3 separate regions of the Homo sapiens genome follow, and regions 1 and 2 are each linked to region 3. The links are contacts of gene promoters, found by promoter capture Hi-C in human tissues and cell types (Jung and others, 2019). All regions are on one chromosome and are shown on one strand. The core of a region is centred on a gene start or on the middle of the fragment in contact, and the rest is flanking DNA. Distances in the headings are between cores, read along the strand shown.

Region 1 (3,672 bases), core at 353-2,852, 300 kb before region 3:
AGCATTGAAAATAAATTCATGAATGAAGAAGGCATGAATAAAAGCAAAATAAGTAAAAGAATCAGGAAAACTTAGGACAATACTAAATAAGAAGGATTTACGTTCAAATCATTGCTATACCACTTCCTAGCTATTACATAATGCAAACTACTTAACCTTCTTGAACTTTCATTTCCTAATCTATAAAACAGAAGTAATAATAAGACTGATACAATAGGGCTCACTAAAATACTCTACCTAAAGCCCTTAGGACAGTGTTTGGCATCGGGTAAATGTTCAGTAGATATTAGCTATTATTATAATCAATGATGGGCTTCAAATTGCTAAATAATTTTTGGTAGCCAATTTTGCAGTTCCATCAAATGTTATAATACTCATGCCATGCCCCTGAACCAAACAGCTTCCATGCACACTCATATTTGTGTAGCAATGTTAATCGCAGTAGAATTTATTGTGGGAAAAATTTAAATCAATCTCTTGTAAGTGAGGGAATAATAAACTGGTATAATATAGTTTTGACTACTATATCACTGTTTTAAAATATGGGGTGGTTTTTTTGCATTATATTATTAATGCAAAAAGGTATATATATAAAATGCAAAAGGTATATAATGCAAAAAGGTATACAATATTATATATTATAATACAATATATAATATTACTTATAAGTAATGTATCAAAAATATATGTATTATATATTATTATACACAATATGTACACTATATGTAATGTGTTATATATAATATGTTAATATTATTATATATTTATATATTAATATTATATAATATATATTATAATGTACATAAAAATCGTGGAAGGATGTTACATTCTCATGTGTAAAGATACATATTAAATGGTATGGAAAGGTACAAACCAATTGTTAATGGTGTATATACACCTGGTGTATATACCATCTTCAATGGTGCCAGCATCTGCTTCTGGTGAGGGCTTCAGGGAATTTTACTCATGGTGCAAGAGGCTGAGGCAAGAGCATGGCTTGAGCACAGGAGTTCAAGGTTGCAGTGAGCTGTGATTGTGCCACTGTCCTCCAGCCTGGGTGACAGAGCAAGACCTTGTTTCCAAAAATATAAAAAAAGAAATCTGATTCACTTGGAAATGAGGATCTAGAGTTCAAGAAAAATTAAAAATAAATATTTTGAAGTTTCTTGTACTCAAAACTTACCTTAATGAAGTTTTTTTAAATGAGATAAAAATTCTGAAAAAAAAAAAGAAAAGGAAAAACAATGTAGAGGTTTGGCTTCCAGACATCTACAAAACAAAACAAGATAAGACAACCCAAACCTGATATTTTAAAAAATATTTTATAATCCATTCTCTGGTAGGATTTTGAGCCTCATCTTTGTCCTTGGAGCTCCCCAGCACCCTATTTATATCTCCATTAGCTTCAGGTCAGATTGCATCTAATTATTTGCCCTTAACTTTATCTTCCTTTCGTCTCTATGCCTGCAAGATGAATGCAGAAAATGTTTCATTATATTGGTTTCCTCTCTCCTGCCTGCAATACCTGGAATTGGATAATTCATGGAAACATGGGAGGAATCATGGAAATGTATTCAACTAGACAATGCAAGACCATTCAGTAGTCTGGAAGTGCTGCTGCTGCTGTGTGACCTTGATATTTTAGACTTATGGGTAGGTTTGAGGAAGAAGGAAAATCACCTTGTAACTTTTCACGTTGAGGTCTTCAATGGATGGAAATATGCAAGGCCATTATCCAGCTGGCTGCCATTTCCTGCCATGAGGTAGAAATACCAACTGTAATGAAAACTTGGGGTCAGCCTCTCTCTCTCTTTTTTTTTTTTTAGATGGAGTCTTGCTCTGTCACCCAGGCTGGAGTGCAGTGGTGCGATCTCAGTTCACTGCAACCTCCGCCTCCCAGGTTCAAGCAATTCTTCTGCCTCAGCCTCCCAAGTAGCTGGGATTACAGGCATGTGCCACCATGCCCGGCTAATTTTGTATTTTTAGTAGAGACGGGGTTTCTCCATGTTGGCCAGGAGGGTCTCGGACTCCCAACCTCAGGTGATCTGCCCCCCTTGGCCTCCCAAAGTGCTGTTATTACAGGCATGAGCCACCGTGCCCGGCCTAGGTTCTCTTAAGAATTAGGGAATAAAAATCTGACCCCCAATTTTCAGGCACATTTTACAACCCATTATGAGTTCGACGATATTCCTGAGAACTTTTAGATAGCTGAGCTGAGCAAAATATTTTTTATAAAGTATACCTCTTTTAGCCCCATATCCCTAAAGATCACTTCCCTTTAACAATTTATTTTTTTCCACCAATAACTTTATATTCTTGAAAATAATATTTTTGGAGCTCAGCCCTTACCAAGTAGGCTGCCAAGAGGCACTTCTTATATACAAAAATTACTCAATTAATATTTTTTTTTCTCTGTACCTCTGTATTTCACGAATCTAAATTTTAACTCACCTTCCCACCAGAACTCTTCCACTTCCTGTATTCTCAAGCTTTGCTAAGGGCTCCATTGTCCCTCCAATGTGTCCAGCTAGAACACTCACAGTCTAACTGAAGCACTACCTATCCTTTACCTTGGTTGCAAAATTCTGAGATGACCTCCAGGATCCTCCTCCTGTGATGTACACACACCTTCTCCCAGTTCTTTAACCAAGCGCTAATCTAGATACTGCTAGGAAGAAATTTTACATCTGCAATTAAGTTTCCAAATTTGTCCACCTTAAGAAAGGGAGATTAACCTGGCCTAATCAGGTGAGACCTTAAAAGAGGTCAGGCTTTTCCTAAAGAAAGACATTGGAAGCATGAGAGAGAGTTGACGTTAGGGAGATGTCTCTGTTGCTGGCTTTGAAGATGGAGGAGGTCACATGCAAGAAATGCAAGTGGCCTCTAGGAGCTGAGACCCCCCCTTATCCTCCCACTTGCTGGCATTCAGCAAGAATGCTAGGATCTCAGTCCCACAGCTGCAAGAAACTGAATTCTGCCAATGTCCACATGAGCTTGGAGGAAGACCGTGAGCTCCAAATGAGATGAGCAGTAAGCCCTGCTCATACCGTGACTTAAGCTTTGTGAGACCCTGAGCAGGGAACTCAGTCATGCCATGCCTAGACTTCTGACCTGCAGAACTGTGAGCCAAAAATGAATGTTGTTCTGAACTGGTAAGTTTGTGGTCATGTGTTACACAGCAGTAGAAAACCAGTACACTAACTCACTGCAAACATTCAGCCACCAAGTCCTATGAGAAGTCTTTTAGCTCCATCCTCTCCTCTCCACCTTCTCTGCTGCTGCCTTTGTGCAAAAGTTCATCATTTCTTTCCTCAACCACTGCAATGAGCTTAATGTTCCTTTTGAGCATCTTACACTTCTGTTCATCCTAAACACCACCACTATTAATCTCACCTTCCACCTCCTCCTTGCTGTCTTACCATTTGGAACCTATCTCTGTGTCTTTGCCTGTTTGCACTATGAACAGTTTTCCATTTTTTTTTAAGTTTCCATTTCTTTTTAAATTATACTTTAAGTTTTAGGGTACATGTGCACAATGTGCAGGTTTGTTATATATGTATACATGTGCCATGTTGGTGTGCTGCACCCATTAACTCGTCATTTGACATTAGGTATGTCTCCTAACGCTATCCCTCCCCACTCCCCCCACCCCACAACAGGCCCCAGTGTGTG
Region 2 (4,021 bases), core at 818-3,317, 320 kb before region 3:
CAAAGTGCTGGAATTACAGGCATGAGCCACCACATCCAGCCTAAATACTCTAGAACATATCTCATTTAAACATAAATCTTTCTATCCTTTTTGAGGAAAAGGTGAGGATTTCAATTGAAAAAGTAAAAAAGCAACAAAAGAAATCTAGCATTTTCTTAAGTTCAAGTTAACAGAAAATAATCTCTTTACTTAGGATGCAAAGCTGGATCCATGTTTTCAGTCTGTCTTAGAGACTCATGTCAGTTACAGAAATGTTTATGTGGTGTTTTGTCCAATAATGAATTTCTGTTACCCTGTTTTTCAGGTCCCGTGGGAGTAGGGCTGAATGAACTGAAACGAAAGCTGCTGATCAGTGACACCCAGCACTATGGCGTGACAGTGCCCCGTGAGTTCTGCGCTACTCAGTGTTCCTATGACTACACTTACGATAATTTTAAATTTTTAAAAAATTATTTTAAAAAATTTTTAACTTGTTTTTAAAATTTTTTGGGTACATGGTAGGTATATGTATTTATGGGGCATGTGAGTTTTTTTTTTGTTTGTTTTGTTTTTTTGAGATGGAGTCTCACTCTGTTGCCAGGCTGGAGTGCAGTGGCGCAATCTCAGCTCACTGCAACCTCTGCCTCTTGGGTTCAAGCAATTCTTCTGCCACAGCCTCCCAAGTAGCTGGGAGTACAGGCACGTGCCACCACACCCAGCTTATTTTTTGTACTTTTAGTAGAGACAGGGTTTCACTATGTTGGCCAGGATGGTCTTGATCTCTTGACCTTGTGATCCACCTGCCTCGGCCTCCCAAAGTGCTGGGATTACAGGCGTGAACCATCACACCTGGCCAAGGTGTTTTGATACAGGCATGAAATGCTGAAATAAGCACATCATGGAGAATGTGGTATCCATTCCCTCAAGCATTTATCCTTTAAGTTACAAACAATTCAATTACACTCATTATTTTAAAATATACAATTAAGTTGTTATTGACTATAGTGACCCTGTTGTGCTATCAAATAGATCTTCTTCATTCTTTGTAACTATTTTCTTTTTGTACTCGTTAATAATGATTGCTTAGTACTTACCAAGCACGTATGGTATCAAGCACTGTTCTGAGCACTCACTCATCTAGACCTCCCAGCTGCCCCAAGAAGTATATAGTGACATTATCCCCATGTTACAGAGGAGGAAACCAAGGCAAAAATGGTTAAAGGATTTGCGCTAAATTACACAGATTTTTGGCAGAATATTTGTTAATCACAGCTTCCCTACTCTTAGGTTTTTATGATGAATTTTAGTACACATATGACATCAAATTATTACTTACAAATTTTCTTCTAAATAAAAGTCTAACAATTCTGTTTCCTAAAATAAGTGCTAATGTTTTCCAGAGTTTTTCACCAGCTTTAAGATTAGAAGAATCAAATCACAGAGAGCTGAAGGAGACTTAATTATAATATAAACCTTTCTTAATTACTTTTTATATGTAGTAATTGGCAGATGATGTTAAATGGGCTTTTCATGGCTATATAGTTTAAATATGGTAAGCTTCTTTTCAGTACACAGAATTAGATTTATTTTTATAAAAGTGGTTTTCATAGGCATTCTTACAAATAAAATGTGATGCTTGAAACATTTTGATCTGCAGAATAAAGGCCATTTGACTACTTAATATGTTGATAATAGAAAGCTGTCTAAAAGGCTAAATTGAAATGTTGGCTTTTTTCAAGCAGTTTTAGTACTGTTTTAAAAAATTTACTTGTATATTGCCCTTAGCGATGTTCTCTAGTTTTGGAAGAGTTCAACTTTATTTTAAAATTATAGTTTTCTGTGACCTCAAGTTCCTTCTTTTTACATTTTTCTAAATTATTGCTTGTAATCATTTTCAGTCACAAGTTATAGGACTGCTGCTTTCTACCAACAGAGATGAAAGTTAATGAAAATGTGGAACTAGACATTTTTTTTGCCTGTAATTATTCACCTCAATTACAAAAGCTGAATTGCAATATATAAGTTATTAGAAAATTTTACAAAATAATTTTTAAGCTTACAGGTGAGCAATTATAGAAGAGACCTAGAAGATGCAAAAACAGATTACAAAGAAAAAAAAACGAATTTTTAAACTTCCTACTGTGTATTCATCTCCTTTGTTTGTCTTAATTTTTGTAGCCTTCCCAGTCAAGTATAAGATGGTTGATATTATCTCTATTTCACAGAGAAGGAGATAGGGATAGAAAGGATATGTTGACTTGAGTTCCATAGATGATAGGTGCACTTGGATTCGAAACCAAGTTTTTTTTGATACCAGTTCTCATGTTCTTCCTCCTATATTAACACTAGCAATCCTTTAAAACTACAGACTATCTTTGTTGTATTCCAGTAAGTAGTCAAAACTGACTTCTTTTGAAGATGAGAAATATCCATAAGCCAATCTATCCCATGTAACTCCCTATGAGAGATGTGATATTATGGAAGGACCTAGGGCAACAAACATACTTTAGCCTCAATTTACCCAGCTGTTTAAATGTTTGCCTCTGAAGTTGTTATAGAAGTTGACAATATTACAGAAAGGTTGTGGGACTGGGACTCTCCAAAGAAATCCCCAAAGTAGTTATTTTTCACTCTGATTTACTTTTAGACAGATATCAATGTCAAAATGTCTTCATATAGTAATGTTTCACTGGCTTGCCTGATGATAAGATTCTCATGGAGTTCTATAAAAAGATATGCCCAAGTATCTGTATTTATAGCATGTTTGGAAAATACCGCATCAAACCAGCGTGATTTAATTAATTAAAGAAGAATATATTTTAAGAGTAATTTTAGAATTTCAGGTAGTTTTGCTTTGTAAAATACTTTGGGCAGAATCTTGAATATTGGAGAAAAATGATTGCTTTGCTTATACCACCAGTATTGTTTGATGTTTATTTCTATAATTCTCTTTTTGAAAGCATGTATTACATATCCACCAGAAAAAGTTATGGAGCAAAGGAACTCCTGCACATTGCTGATGGGAATGTAAATTAACACAATCATTTTGGAAAACTAAGTAGCAGTATCCACTAAAGCTGAGCAAACACATACCCTTGACCCAGCAATTCCGCTCCTACTGCACACCCAATGGAAATGCATAAGTACGTTCACCAAAAGACACGTACTGAGCTATTCTTAGTCATTATTCATAAGAGCTCAGAACTGGAAACTACTCAAATGCTTATCATTTGAATGAATAAGTAAAATGGAGAAGTAAAGTATAGTATATGCATACAAAGTATAGTATATGCATACAATGGAATACTGTAAAGCAATGAGAATGAACAATCTTCAACTACATGCAACAATAAGAATGAATCCCGCAAATGTGTTGAACAAAAGGAGGCAGACACAAGAGAATGAATGAGGCAGCGTGATTTCATTTTTATAATTGCAATAAAGGCAACATTCATGTGTGCTGTTAGAAATCTCAAGGATTTGGGTTAGAACAGGAACTCAAGAGGTGATTCTGGAGTGCTAGCAATTTTCTGCTTCTTGTTAGAGTGCTGGCTACATGGGGGTGTTAAACACTTTTATGTGTATATATATCAGTTATTGTATAATACTCAGGCTTTAAATGTTAAAAAGAAATAATAGTTTAACTGTAGTTTGCTGATTTTCTGGTTTTCCTAAAGTGCTATAGTTATGTAAATATTTCAAGAGGAAGCTGAGTGATTTTACATGGGACCTGTCTGTACTATTTTTGTAACTACTTGTGAATTTGTAATTACTTTAATTTAAAAACATTATTTAAATGGATGCTAAATCAGGTACTCGAGCTAAAGTGGCTGAATGAGCTATATGAAATGTTTAAAAATTATCCATGTAATAATATTAAACATTCAAAGTTGCTTTTCAAGAAAGTGGTGGCTGAAACCCTTGCTTTCTGTCTTTTGCTCCTCTGTGGGAAGTTTCTTATTGATTGATTGATTGTAGAGATGGAGTCTCACTATGTTGCCCAGGCTAATCTCAAACTCCTGGCCTCAGATGATCCTCCTGC
Region 3 (3,659 bases), core at 691-3,190:
TTGCTGTATATTTCATTTCAGACTTTAAGAAAACAAATATTACATGTAAGTATATCTTAAAAGCGCTCTAAATGCATTTTTAAATTGAGTAAATATAGTTAAGTACTAAAACAACAAAATTCATTTGTCCTATACTAACATGTACTATAGCATATAGCTCAAAAAGTTAGTAGAATACTGGGAAATTGCAAGTAACTGTATGATGCCTATTGCTTTACCTGGGACAGCTGACCAAAAAATGTTTCAGGGGTATGTTAGAGCTAATTTCATTACAATTCCCGGTGACTAACACCACTGATAGAGACCATAAAAGAGAAGGTGGCTCTTTTGTCCTATGAATTATCAATTAGATCTGCTTCTGTGGTGAAATTTGTTAGCTGAAAATTGATGGCTGAAACCTTAGGATTTACCCCTGTCTTTAAGCTCCTACAGCGAGGTCTGTAGACCAGAAGCCTGTACTGAACTCACACCACAAGGGCAGCGCCAAAGACAAGATGCAAGCGCTGCAACAGCAAGTTATATAACAAAAGAGAACCGAGGACATCAGAACGTGCTCCAATGATACTTTGTATCTTCCTGGTGCGCAAAAATGTAAACCGGCCTTCCTTTATGGTTTACATTGTACCCCTGCACAACGGTTTGCTATCGCGTAATTTGGGAGGTGACACATATGAAATTTGAGGGTGTGATTAGTCTTTAAAATAATAGTTTTGGTATATATTTTAAGCACTTCTAGCGACCCCCCCAACACACAAACACACACACACACACGCGCACACACACACACACACACGAAGAAGATGCTAAGGTGGGCCACTGCCCCGGCTCTGGCCAGCCGCATTTAGAGGGGAAAAGGACAAATGGCGCTATTTCTTTAAGCTTGGTGGGGGGAAATCTAAGTTTGTTCTTTAAAAAGGGCGAAAGTTCGCTAGGACCACAGGGCCTTCGGCGAGAGCGCAGGCAGCTTCGTGTTGGCACCTTGGGGATCTTCTGGGCTGCCAGAAGCTCTGAGCTTGCAGTTGCACCTAAACCGCCGCTTTCGCTACTTATATTTGCGGTAATGTTAGGAAGCAAAGTATCATCAATCAGAGAATCTGGTAGCCATTCTCTCTCTTTGCCCTGTGTCCCAGCTTGTGATTCTTCTAAGTTCCATCTCCTTTGCTGCGTGCAGATCCTTGGCTTTGGGCGCGCTTCCTCTTCTGCACTTGGGCCACCGCGGGTTGGCCACCTGGGCTGAACTCATCCCATCCTTGCTTTCCCCCATCCCTATACCCAGCGGCGAGGGCAGCCTCACCAGCCCTTGCCCCGGAGGTGAATGTGTGCCTGGCTTTGACTGAGACAACTAGGACCCCAGAAGCCCAGTGACATCAGAAAAGAGGCTCCTGGGCACTAGCACTTCCCGCAATACGCTCCAGGGCTGTAGGTGCAAAACGGAGCTCTAACTTCCCTCCAGCTAATCGAGAGGAAAATACAGGGCGCGTCACAGTGGCCTCTCCCGCCTAGCCACGCGCAGTGAAATTTCCGGCAATCGGGCCAGCTAAGACACGGGATTTGCACCGCAGCCTCTCAGCTTCTGGAGCCGGAGCCGAGCGCTCCCGGCAGCTTCTCCAATTTCTCTCCTAAAGTGCGAAGGGAAAAGCCCCGTCTGCTCCACGACTGCAAGGCCGGCGGATCTGGGAGCCGCGCCCGGCTCCGGAGGACTCGGCGGGCCCGGGGCTCCCCGGCAGCGGCTCCTCTGCTAGGGGTTAACAGCAGCCCCCGCGGCCGGGCGGGCGCGGACGCTTCCTCTCCACCCGCCCGGGAACGTGGATACCGCGCCCGCAGGATGTTCGCCGGCTGGGACCGGCAGTCAGGAAACATGAGAAGGCCTCGCTATTCCTGTTCCCGGGCGGCGCGCGCCGGGCTGGGTAAATAAAGCCGAGACGACGGCGGTGGCGGTGGTGAGCGCGCTGGAGCCCGCGTGGAGAACATGCGGCGGGGATGGGAGTGCGCCTAGTCTCGAGGCGGGAGAGCCAGCCGCCCTGCAGCCGGCCGTCGGCCCCGCAGCCACAGGTACAGCCCCCGCGTCGCCGAGTCTCAGCCGGCTGCGGCGGAACGCCAGGCTCGCTCTGGCCCCTGCGCCCTGGGCGCCGGTGCTCTCCCGCCCTTCCCCCAACTTCCCTCCAAGGTCTGGTGGAGAGGCGCTCGGGTAGCGGCCAAGGCTGGCCCAAGGGTCTGCGCGGAGCTTGGGAGCCCACCTGGCCGCGCCTCCTTTGCTTTAAAATTATTCGCCGGCGTTGGGGGAGGGGGACACTTCTGCAGGGAGTGACCTCCCCGGCCACAGTCTGGAGTGAATCGGGGTAAGTGATTTGAGAAGAGGCGCGGGTGGCCGCGCGCGGGAGTCCTGGGAGGGTCAGCAAGTGTGGTTCACACGCCCCCGGACCCCTTGCGACAGGACAGCGCTCGGACCTTTGCCATCGCTTGCCTCTGAGCCTGCTGCCTGCAGACCTACAGCGCGCCGGGTGTCTGTGTCTGCGATCTCTGCGTGGGCTTGGGGCTGCCGGGGAAGTGTCCGAGGTGGCTAACCTCGTGATGACTTCGCTAGGAAAAACACGTCGTCGCATCTAGGAGGACGCGCTGGGGTGGCTCGGAGAAGGCCGGGCCGGGGAAGGGTGTCTTGTACAAATAAAGCAGCATGAACACACATCCCTAAGGGCATGATTTTAAAAGAAAACACCAACGCGAGTCTTGACTGTAGAACAGGGGCTGCAAGCACGAAAATTCTCTTTGACACTTATCACCGAGGCTATGTGCACACCCCAGGCACGTACCTGTCTGCGCGGGAGGACGCAGTCCTAGGGGACACACGACATCCAGCAGAGGTCTGACTTCACTTCCCTACGAACACAGACCGTAGCCGTCGTTTGATCGCGGTGGTCACGCGTGGTCCTAAATGTCACGCGTGGCCTCTGCTGCGGTGGCCGAAGGGCGGGGCGGGGGCGTTGGCGAGTGTGGGCGCTTGGCGAGGCAAAGGGTGTGTGTGTGTGTGTGTGTGTGTGTGTGTGTGTATGCGCGCGCGCGTGTGTTAGTGGAGTAGCAGCCCATGCCGCGGCTGGACGGGCAAAGGGGGCGCTGGCAGCGAAGCTGAGGCCGCTCGGAGGAAACGGGAGCTGTCCCGAGGCGCGAGGCGAGGAGATGGGGCGGGCGAAGTCCGCCGCGCGCCTTGGGGCTGTAACTCTGCGGCTCCGCGGCCGCGCGGACTTGCTCCTGACGCCGGTGCGCGGCAGGCAGAGGCTCAGGGCCTCCGCGACCCCAGAGGTGAGCTGCTGGCTCTCCCCGACAGTGGCAGCAGTGGCCCGGGAGGTGCGCCGACCAAGCTGCCTCCTGCCTTGGGCTTCTGACACCTTTACAGCCTCTGAAAGGGTCCCCGGAGACCCCAGAGAGAGGCGGGTGTCGAGGGGCTACGAGCTCGCGGCTGACACCCGCGCTGCGGAAGAGAATGGCACTGATTGAGGGCTCTGGGGACCTGGGTCCTGGCGCCTTGGACCTTAGGACCATGCACTTCCCGGGGCGCGTTGGGGGATGATAGGAAGATTCTGGGAGAGAAGGGGGAGAAGTGGTGCTTTCGTCCTGACGCCACTTAACTTTTTCCTGTCCTTGAACCCAACCTCACCCCGGGG

What was found. The method cuts DNA at HindIII sites, captures the fragments that hold promoters and counts their contacts. A contact is called where the count stands out against the background at its distance.
Region 1: a contact is called between a fragment that was not itself captured here and the fragment with the promoter of MKX in region 3, in 2 of the 25 tissues and cell types used here (H1 embryonic stem cells and mesenchymal stem cells).
Region 2: a fragment that was not itself captured here is called in contact with the fragment with the promoter of MKX in region 3 in 1 of the 25 tissues and cell types used here (spleen).

The regions. Positions count from the first base shown.
Region 1 is chr10:28,041,468-28,045,139 of GRCh38, reverse strand. No RefSeq gene overlaps it. Among named protein-coding and RNA genes, the nearest start is that of SNORD130, 30 kb to the left of the region's middle. The HindIII fragment of the contact is 5,301 bases long and covers 1-3,672 here.
Region 2 is chr10:28,066,136-28,070,156 of GRCh38, reverse strand. MPP7 (MAGUK p55 scaffold protein 7) reads left to right here. Exons shown (of 17, transcript NM_001318170.2): 13 at 305-385. Among named protein-coding and RNA genes, the nearest start is that of SNORD130, 5.2 kb to the left of the region's middle. The HindIII fragment of the contact is 3,355 bases long and covers 390-3,744 here.
Region 3 is chr10:27,744,100-27,747,758 of GRCh38, reverse strand. MKX (mohawk homeobox) reads left to right here and starts at 1,940. Exons shown (of 7, transcript NM_173576.3): 1 at 1,940-2,052. It overlaps MKX-AS1 (MKX antisense RNA 1), which reads right to left and starts at 3,144. Exons shown (of 2, transcript NR_121652.1): 1 at 2,811-3,144. RefSeq lists an enhancer at 1,859-2,449. The HindIII fragment of the contact is 9,708 bases long and covers 247-3,659 here.